2 separate regions of the Homo sapiens genome follow, and region 1 is linked to region 2. Evidence: promoter capture Hi-C in human tissues and cell types (Jung and others, 2019). All regions are on one chromosome and are shown on one strand. The core of a region is centred on a gene start or on the middle of the fragment in contact, and the rest is flanking DNA. Distances in the headings are between cores, read along the strand shown.

Region 1 (5,302 bases), core at 1,005-3,504, 250 kb before region 2:
GAGATCTGATGTTTTATAAAGGGCTTTTCCCCCTTTGCTAGGCACTATCGTTCCTGTTGCCAGGTGAAGAAGGATGTATTTGCTTCCCCTTCCACCATGATTCCAAGTTTCCTGAGGCCTCCTCATTCCTGCGGTACTGCAAGTCAATTAAGCCTCTTTCCTTTATAAATTACCCAGTCTCGGGTATTTCCTCATAGCAGCATAAGAACAGACTACTATAGTAAATTGGTACTGGGAGGTAGTGGGGTGCTGCTATAAGGATACCCAAAAATGTGGAAGCAGCTTTAGAGCTAGGTAACAGGCAGAGGTTGGAACAGTCTGGAGAGCTCAGAAGAAGACAGAAAAATGTGGGAAAGTTTGGAACTTCCGAGAGACTTGTTGAGTGGCTTCGACCAAATTGCTGATAATGATATGGACGATGAAGTCCAGCTAAGGTGATCTCACATGAGATGAGGAACTTCTTGGGAACTGGAATAAAGGTGATTCTTGCTATGCTTTAACAAAGAGACGGGTGGCATTTTGCCACTGTACTAGAGATTTGTGGAACTTTGAACTTGAGAGAGATGATTTAGGGTAGCTGGTGGAAGAAATTTCTTAGTGGCAAAGTGTTCAAGAAGCAGCAGAACATAAAAAACATAAAACTTTGGAAAATTTGTAGCCTGACAATGTGATAGAAAAGAAAAACCCATTTTCTGGGGAGAAATTCAAGCTGGCTGCAGAAATTTGCATAAGTAGCAAGGAGCCTAATGTTAATTCCCAAGACCATGGGGAAAATGTCTCCAGGTTATGTCAGATACCTTCACAGCAGCCTCTCCCATCACATGTCCAGAGCCTAGGAGAGAAAAATGGTTTCCTGGGCTGGGGGCCTCAATGCTCTGTGCAGCCTCAGGACCTGGTGCCCTGCATCCTAGCTGTTTCAGCTCCAGCTGTGGCTAAAATGGGCCATCATACAGCTCAGGCTGTTGCTTCAGAGGGTGCAAGTTCTATGCCTTGGCAGCTTTTGCATGGTATTGGGCCTGCAGGTACACCAAAGTCAAGAATTGAGGTTTGGGAACCTCTGCCTGGATTTCAGAGGATGTATGGAAACATTTGGGTGTCCAGGCACAAGTTTGCTGCAGGGGTGGAACCTTAATTGAGAACCTCTACTGGGGCAGTGTGGAAGGGAAATATCAGTTGGAGCACCCACACAGAGTCTCCTCTGGGGCACTGCCTAGTTGAGCTGTGAGAAGAACGCTACCTTCCTCCAGACCCCAGAATGGTACATCCACTGCCAGCTTGCACAGTGGGCTTGGAAAAGCCTTAGACACCCAACACCAGCCTGTGAAAGCAGCCAGGATGGGGCTGTACCATGCAAAGCCACAGGAATGGAGCTGCTCAAGGCTGTGGGGGCCCATCTCTTAGATCAGCATGACCTGGATGTGAGACATGAAGTCAAAGGATATTATTTTGAAACTTTAAGGTTTAATAATTGCCCTACTGGATTTTGGACTTTCATGGGCCTATAGCCCCCTTGTTTTGACTGATTTCTCCCATTTGGAATGGGTGTATTTACCCAGTGCCTGTACCCCAACTGTATGTAGGAAGTAACTAACTTGCTTTTGATTTTACAAGCTCGTAGGTGGAAGGATCTTGCCTTGTCTCAGGTGAAACTTTGGACTTGGACTTTTGGGTAAATGCTGGAGTGAGCTAAGACTTTCGGGGACTGTTGGAAAGTCATGATTATGTTTTGAAATGTGAGGATGAGATTTGGGAGGGGCCAGGGGTGGAATAATATAGTTTGGCTGTGTCCTCACCTAAATCTCCTTTTGAATTATAGTTCCCACAATCCCCCCATGTCATGGGAGAACCTGGTGGGAGGTAATTGAATCATGGGGACGGTTACCCTCGTGCTGTTCTTCTGATAGTGAGTGAGTTATCACAAGATCTGATGGTTTTATAAAGGGTTTTCCTCCCTCTGCTGGGCACTTCTTCCTCCCACCACATGACGAAGGATGTATTTGCTTCTTCTTCCACCATGATTATAAGTGTCCTGAGGCTTCTCTAGTCCTGTGGAAATGTGAGTCAATTAAACCTCTTTCCTTTATTCATTACCTAGTTTTGGGTATTTCTTCATAGCAGCATGAAAACAAACTAATACAGTGGTAGATGAGAGGCCACCTTATATAGAGGAACCAAGCCACTGCCAAAATCACAGCCTAGCAGAGAGGGTGTGGGGGTTTTAATAAACACTTGCATTCTCATCCTGCCTTCTGATCTTCTCTTGGCACCTTTACTGAAACCATTTAGAAGTTGGAGGGCAAGAAAGAGCCTAGGTTACATTCCAAAGAGCTTAGCATTCTGTGACACAGAACAAAGTAGAGAAGGGCTGAAACTGGAGCTGCTGAGGGATCAGTGGAGAACAAGTACCTCAAACTCTATTTTGGGTATCTTGAGCTATCAACCCAATTATAGCTACTTTGGATTTTAGTCAATTCAAGTTAGGATTGAATAAGTAGATAAAAGCTCAAGCACCCAAGCATGGCATTTGGGGACCTTTGCAATTGACTCCCAAACTTCCTTTCTAATTGTATTTACTGCTATTCTCCACATAAATCTTTGCTCTAGTCAAGCTAACCCGCCCTCAACTATTCCCTAAGCTTGTTTTGCTCATTATTGCCTCTGTCTTTGTTGCCATTCTTCTTATCTGAACTATTTTCCTTCATTTTCTCTAGCTAAATTCAATTTGTCTTTTGAAGCCACATGACAGAGGTCCTAAATCCTTTGGAAAAATTCCTTTTTCCATCCTTAGTGGGTGATTCTTCCTTTGCCATTCTATGGCACTTAATTTCTGTCATTCATTAAAAGTACACCTTATACTATATGTCAGTTGTTTTCTTTAATAGCTATCCAATGTCTTCATTTGGATCATCCGTAGTAGATAAATTTCATCTTGGATGCTGATTGCAAGCATTGAGAAGGACTCCGAGGTAACCCTGGAGATCAGCAGGATATTATACTCACATTTATTAGAAATATCTGCACTGGCCCAGGAGATGTGAATAATGGCATGTCTGCTACATATTTGCCATTCTCGAATTATAGTACATTTGGGTCCTATGCATCTGCAGATCCAACCAACCAAGGATCAAAAATATTTTAATAAATAAATAACAATACAACAGTAGGAATACAAATAAAAATGCAGTAGAACAACAATTTACACAGTATTTATATTGTATTAGCTGTTATAAGCAATCCAGAGATGATTTAAAATATATGGGGGGATGTGCATAGATTATATGCAATTACTACATCATTTTCATAGAGGCCTTGAGCATCTGTGGATTTCGGAATTTGTGGGGGTCCTGGAAACAGTCTCCTGTGGATACTGAGGGACAACTGTTAAGCTTTTAGATGGTTAGAATGTGATTTGTTCATCTGTGTACCCTCTGTAGCTACCTCAGTGCCTTGTGTAAAGCTGACGCATAATAAATATTTGTTGATTGTTTTGGTTATCTAAGAACTTATGCAAATGAAGGATCTAGTGTCAGTGAAAAATGTTGAACACAGAACAAGAAGTTTTATTCTTTCAGCTTTCTTCTTTAAGAACATTCTTTGACATTCTGGGGTAAAATCATAGTTGGAGAATGTGCAGCTAAAGGTTAAATTGGCTCTCAAAATATCTTCTTTGTAGTAGTAAAATAAAGTACTGATGCTGAGGTCAGAAGAGCAAAGTAAAAGAAAATGATGGCTGAGTACTACAAAGGGAGATAACTGTGAGTGGCTCATTATCATAAGGCTGCTTCTAAAAGCTGGCTCATTGATTTAATGATCATGCCATACGTTGAGCTGCTGAATGTTCACTGCAGTTAAAAAGAGATTTGTCCTCATCAAAGAAGTGGGGAAATGCAATTCCAGCATACAGTTTGTAAGCCAAACTTTGAGTCATAAAATTCAAAATGATTTATTAGTTATGCCCTCATGCTTTTGTCTAACCTTTCCTTAAAATGTAAGTCCCATGTATTGTTAGAACTCCCTTTTCCTCCGTATTCAATCTTATCTCCTTCTTGCATGATTATTCAGTAGAATTTATCCTCTTCCATAGGCCTAGTAACACTTTTTGTTTACTGGGATGCTGCTAGGACTGGAATTTTGTGGTCAGCAATAATTACCACGTATGAGAAGTTTATTAACATTTGCTGCCTGGATCAAGGGATTTTATTTTATTGTTGGTATTGAAGTAGGGAAATGAATACCTCAAGGATTTGCATATTTAGTCCATTACTAAGCAAATGACATAAAAATATATTTTGGTGGATTCAAAATAAAATGTAATCTCAGTTTATTTTTTTTGGAGAGCAGGTGTCCAGGGCCAAATCACATTGCTGTAGGATTAAGAATGTTGTTTATGTTACACTGATATTTGCTGTGTTTTTAATGCTTTCCCAAAATGATTTCTTCTCAAGTAAAAAATGCTGAGAAAGCTTGAATACCAGATGCCTAAGGGAGAGTTCAAAACATCAACAGCATCACACAGACACACACACACACACACTCTCTAATACTGGTATGTGTGTGAACATAAGCATTGTAAGTTTGCTTTTGCTATTAATGACTAGCATGGAGCTGGGCTATTTGCCACAATCAAAATGGAAAACTGAGAACTCTTGACACTTCTCATCAATTTGATCTTTTCCATTTCCTCAAGCTAATGAGGGCGATGGTTTTATTTGACACTAAAATATTTAGGAAATGTCTTAATTTAACAATGTGACAAGATGACTTAAGGTTAAGATAGAAGAAGAATGTGGTTCTTTAATGAAAGCAAATGTATTTCTAAGAAGCCTAAACATAGTTCATCTTGTCCTGTTGTGTATTTCAATATGAATGCCCTGTAATAATTAATGTTTAGAAGCATAAAATAAGGGAAAAAGTTGCGCCCCAAACTCTTAAGAAATTTTATGTTTCTGTGAAATATTTCCTTATGTTACTTGTCTCTTGATTTAAATGTGAAACAAATTTCAGTTCTCTAAACGAAGATACTTGCTAGCCTTACTAGGGTGAACTAGACATATAAAATTTGTTGTGAAAAGCTACAAGCAAAGCAATATGCAGTTTTGTGAAGGTCAGTGCAATGAATCCATAATATATCCACACATTACTGTCATCTCATTAGCTTTTGGTGGTAAGGACACGGTGTTTGTCCTTAGGAAGGAAACTTGCAGTATAACATTTCTAGGTCCATAGACCTAGATCTTGTTTATACTTGTCTTAGACAACAATTCAAGATCTTTTGGTTTGGGAGATAAGAATGTAAATTGGT
Region 2 (5,356 bases), core at 1,390-3,889:
TCATATTGTTACTTGCCACTATATTGTACTAATTTTTACTCCTATATAATATTAAATTAGTGAATATACTACAGTTTATTTTTATACTGTTTTTGGATATTTTGATTGATTCAACGTTTTGTTAATATGAATAGTGTCACTATAAACATTTTTTACATATCTTCTGTTGTACATGTGCAAAAATTTCTCTTAGTTTTATACCTTATCATGGAAGTGCTAGAGTTTGCAAATATTCAATTTTAGTGAAAAAAAGTGTCAAATTTTTCCAAAGTGGTTGCTCTAATCTGTAACATGTAAAAGAGCCAATAGATTCACATTTGGTATTATAAGATTTTTAGGCATTTGGAATCCAGTGGGGGTAAAATGGTTCTATATTATTATCTTAATAAATATTATTAAAAAATAGAAACTTTCCTCCATTTCTAATTTGGTCAGATAAACTGTCTATTTCAAACTAATTACAAAACTATTTACGTCCTACTTTGAGCTAATTTTTTCTAACTCTTGTGTCATTCCATGATATGGTCATGGTCATGGTCAGTACTCTCATATAGTCGTTATGGCCAATGTGTTCTCTGCTATAATCCCACTCCCCTAGACAGAATGTCAGGGAGTGAGATCATGTATTTACTTAAGCTTTCCAGCTATTCATTCTTTCTTACTGTAGACACCTCATCTCATCCCAAACGATTTTTAAAGCTATCTAAGAAATTTCCATTGACTACTTAAGTTTGAAAAAGATTTTATTAAAAATATTGCACTACATGGACACATTTACAAACACAGTCATAAGATTGCAATGGTCTATAGAGAGCTGGCCCAAGTGACTAAGTATTTTTTAAAAACCATTCAATTTGATTTCTGGATTTTCATGTTTCTTTCTTATAAGACACTAAGTTACCTAATTTAAACGCAAAGCCACGTTTAAGGTGATTCTCAGACATCTGAAGGAAGGACTAAGGAATGTTCTTTAAATTGGGAAATAGGGCAGGAGAGAAATCCTAGTGCAAAGCTCCATACTCAGCAAAAGCAAGGTAAGTATGATGATGACTCATAGGCTTACTGTTGTTTGTTAAGATACATGGAATTTCCAGGAGGAAAGAAGAATGAGAGTTATGGTAAAAATAAGATGGAAGCATACAGATGTGATCCTGAAACCTTCCCTCCCACCCCTCATCAACCTGAATGCAGTAAAACAAAGTGAGCTTATATGCATTATCCATGGAATGGCAACTTTCATTCTGATTAAAGATATTTAAAAGCATCAGACATCTCTAAGAGGGCTTAGCTGAAACTCTCTATGTATTTCTGATGGCAACGTATTTGGCCATTATGAACCAAGATAGAATGTACGTTTTCTAAACTGATACTGAATTGTCTAAGTTGCTAACAAGAAATCCTTTCATAACAGTACAGTTTTTAACCTTTACTTCTTTATTCATCTTTAATTCCTTGCCACTTCCCACTGAGTTGAAATGTTTATATTAAAACAAAACACCCACTGGAATTCTAAAGAAATTGGCTCACCCATCTTTCAAATTACAAGATATTTTTTGACAGTATACAATATTCATTATAATGGAATAAACATTTTAATTTCTTAAGGAACTCTAATTTTCCTTAAAGGAGATGTTTACAACTTACTATTATAAATGCTGCCACTCAATCATAGGAGAAAATGATACTAAAATAGTTCAAGGCTAAAATCACACATAGGGCAGTTGTTCTCGAATATTTATAAGGCCACGAACTCATTTATGTATAACCTATAAACTTGAAGAATTTTTGAACCAATACAGTGGCAAGGAAAGCTAACAACCTAACTGTTAAGATCTATGGTCATTATTTTTCATTTAGTCCTAGAAATACATTTCCTTTCTGTAATGAATCAATATGGTCTAACTCAAAGAGAAACACGTGGAAGTGAAAAATAAATTTCTAAAGCAAGTGCTGATGGAAGAAGCAGAATTTCCCATTTAAAATACCCAAACAACTCCAAATTCTTTAGTAGTTAGGACTCCTGAAATCTCTTGACATAATAGAGAAGCAAAGACCCATAGAGAGATATGCGGTTAAATAGTGCTGCCTCTGGTGGCAAAAGCAGTTGCTAAGTTGTTTCACAACATATTTTTCCCCCACAGGCACAGGCCCCCCAAACACTGGAGCCGTCTACGAATTATTCTGACGCTAACTCCACAGCTCCGGACAGAAACACAATAGACGGGCGTGGTCTTATAATCATAAGCCAGTTCCTTTCTCAAGTCCTTCCTGCCTATGTTCGCTTACGTGTTATGGGTTCTGCGGTCCTGATGAAACTCCCTGAACGGAGAAAAACCACACACTTCATCCCAGTGGCGAATTTCTCCTCTTGCTCTAAGCAGGGTGTTTGACCTTCTAGTCGACTGCGTCCCCTGTACCCGGCGCCAGCTGTGTTCCTGACCCCAGAATAACTCAGGGCTGCACCGGGCCTGGCAGCGCTCCGCACACATTTCCTGTCGCGGCCTAAGGGAAACTGTTGGCCGCTGGGCCCGCGGGGGGATTCTTGGCAGTTGGGGGGTCCGTCGGGAGCGAGGGCGGAGGGGAAGGGAGGGGGAACCGGGTTGGGGAAGCCAGCTGTAGAGGGCGGTGACCGCGCTCCAGACACAGCTCTGCGTCCTCGAGCGGGACAGATCCAAGTTGGGAGCAGCTCTGCGTGCGGGGCCTCAGAGAATGAGGCCGGCGTTCGCCCTGTGCCTCCTCTGGCAGGCGCTCTGGCCCGGGCCGGGCGGCGGCGAACACCCCACTGCCGACCGTGCTGGCTGCTCGGCCTCGGGGGCCTGCTACAGCCTGCACCACGCTACCATGAAGCGGCAGGCGGCCGAGGAGGCCTGCATCCTGCGAGGTGGGGCGCTCAGCACCGTGCGTGCGGGCGCCGAGCTGCGCGCTGTGCTCGCGCTCCTGCGGGCAGGCCCAGGGCCCGGAGGGGGCTCCAAAGACCTGCTGTTCTGGGTCGCACTGGAGCGCAGGCGTTCCCACTGCACCCTGGAGAACGAGCCTTTGCGGGGTTTCTCCTGGCTGTCCTCCGACCCCGGCGGTCTCGAAAGCGACACGCTGCAGTGGGTGGAGGAGCCCCAACGCTCCTGCACCGCGCGGAGATGCGCGGTACTCCAGGCCACCGGTGGGGTCGAGCCCGCAGGCTGGAAGGAGATGCGATGCCACCTGCGCGCCAACGGCTACCTGTGCAAGTACCAGTTTGAGGTCTTGTGTCCTGCGCCGCGCCCCGGGGCCGCCTCTAACTTGAGCTATCGCGCGCCCTTCCAGCTGCACAGCGCCGCTCTGGACTTCAGTCCACCTGGGACCGAGGTGAGTGCGCTCTGCCGGGGACAGCTCCCGATCTCAGTTACTTGCATCGCGGACGAAATCGGCGCTCGCTGGGACAAACTCTCGGGCGATGTGTTGTGTCCCTGCCCCGGGAGGTACCTCCGTGCTGGCAAATGCGCAGAGCTCCCTAACTGCCTAGACGACTTGGGAGGCTTTGCCTGCGAATGTGCTACGGGCTTCGAGCTGGGGAAGGACGGCCGCTCTTGTGTGACCAGTGGGGAAGGACAGCCGACCCTTGGGGGGACCGGGGTGCCCACCAGGCGCCCGCCGGCCACTGCAACCAGCCCCGTGCCGCAGAGAACATGGCCAATCAGGGTCGACGAGAAGCTGGGAGAGACACCACTTGTCCCTGAACAAGACAATTCAGTAACATCTATTCCTGAGATTCCTCGATGGGGATCACAGAGCACGATGTCTACCCTTCAAATGTCCCTTCAAGCCGAGTCAAAGGCCACTATCACCCCATCAGGGAGCGTGATTTCCAAGTTTAATTCTACGACTTCCTCTGCCACTCCTCAGGCTTTCGACTCCTCCTCTGCCGTGGTCTTCATATTTGTGAGCACAGCAGTAGTAGTGTTGGTGATCTTGACCATGACAGTACTGGGGCTTGTCAAGCTCTGCTTTCACGAAAGCCCCTCTTCCCAGCCAAGGAAGGAGTCTATGGGCCCGCCGGGCCTGGAGAGTGATCCTGAGCCCGCTGCTTTGGGCTCCAGTTCTGCACATTGCACAAACAATGGGGTGAAAGTCGGGGACTGTGATCTGCGGGACAGAGCAGAGGGTGCCTTGCTGGCGGAGTCCCCTCTTGGCTCTAGTGATGCATAGGGAAACAGGGGACATGGGCACTCCTGTGAACAGTTTTTCACTTTTGATGAAACGGGGAACCAAGAGGAACTTACTTGTGTAACTGACAATTTCTGCAGAAATCCCCCTTCCTCTAAATTCCCTTTACTCCACTGAGGAGCTAAATCAGAACTGCACACTCCTTCCCTGATGATAGAGGAAGTGGAAGTGCCTTTAGGATGGTGATACTGGGGGACCGGGTAGTGCTGGGGAGAGATATTTTCTTATGTTTATTCGGAGAATTTGGAGAAGTGATTGAACTTTTCAAGACATTGGAAACAAATAGAACACAATATAATTTACATTAAAAAATAATTTCTACCAAAATGGAAAGGAAATGTTCTATGTTGTTCAGGCTAGGAGTATATTGGTTCGAAATCCCAGGGAAAAAAATAAAAATAAAAAATTAAAGGATTGTTGATAACCCAGACTCAAATATCATTGCCTTCCTCCAGGAGTAATTAGGAACAGCTGAGGGCATGCTGGGAGTAAGCAGCAAGAGTGCATTCTGCTTTTAGATTGAGGGAGAGGTCCTTAAGTTCCTCGAATGAGACACAGATCTTTAAGAACTAGTAACTTTTTCATTGATTCTTTTATCCTTTCTTTTCAAAGTCACTGCTACTTGTGTGCTTTGCTATAAATCGAAAGTGTAGTGTTGCCAGAATTGCTGGCTCTGGAAGAAAATTACAGTTGACCACCAGTTCAAGTGTTTACTTTATGTCCATGCCCAAGGAAAACACATAATTTGCGTTTTCCCTTTCCAGTGTTTGTGCTTTCCAGCGTAATGACCTCCCCAAGCAAATAGCCCTCTCCTGAACATCAAGATGCTCATCCTCATCTTCAATTATGGTGATGTTAATTCTCAATTAAAATGTTAATGCTAAGTATTGATTTGCAATCTTCTGGTTGCATCAAAGAAAAAGTAAGCTGGTTTTCCTCCAAAGTTGCTAAGTTCTTGTGCATTTTTCAACCCATGGAAAAACTTGAACACCAAGCCATTTTCTTTTTCTCTTGATAAGAATGTGTGCAATAACAATACTTGCTCATTTTGGAGTGATTATAATCTTACAAGTGTTTACATGGGCAAAGGCATGGTAAACAGTTTACCATAAGAAATAATAGTATAAGAAATAAGTGACAAATTTTAAAAAATCTA

What was found. Contacts are between HindIII fragments. The study calls those that stand out against the background at their distance.
Region 1: a fragment that was not itself captured here is called in contact with the fragment with the promoter of CLEC14A in region 2 in 2 of the 25 tissues and cell types used here (IMR-90 fibroblasts and mesenchymal stem cells).

Annotation. Positions count from the first base shown.
Region 1 is chr14:38,504,568-38,509,869 of GRCh38, reverse strand. No RefSeq gene overlaps it. Among named protein-coding and RNA genes, the nearest start is that of CLEC14A, 250 kb to the right of the region's middle. The HindIII fragment of the contact is 7,274 bases long and covers 1-5,302 here.
Region 2 is chr14:38,253,376-38,258,731 of GRCh38, reverse strand. It overlaps CLEC14A (C-type lectin domain containing 14A), which reads left to right and starts at 2,639. Exons shown (of 1, transcript NM_175060.3): 1 at 2,639-4,732. The coding sequence starts at 2,710. The coding sequence ends at 4,182. LOC112268136 (a long non-coding RNA gene) reads right to left here and starts at 2,687. Exons shown (of 5, transcript NR_169588.1): 1 at 2,287-2,687. RefSeq lists an enhancer at 2,830-3,457. The HindIII fragment of the contact is 7,223 bases long and covers 1-5,356 here.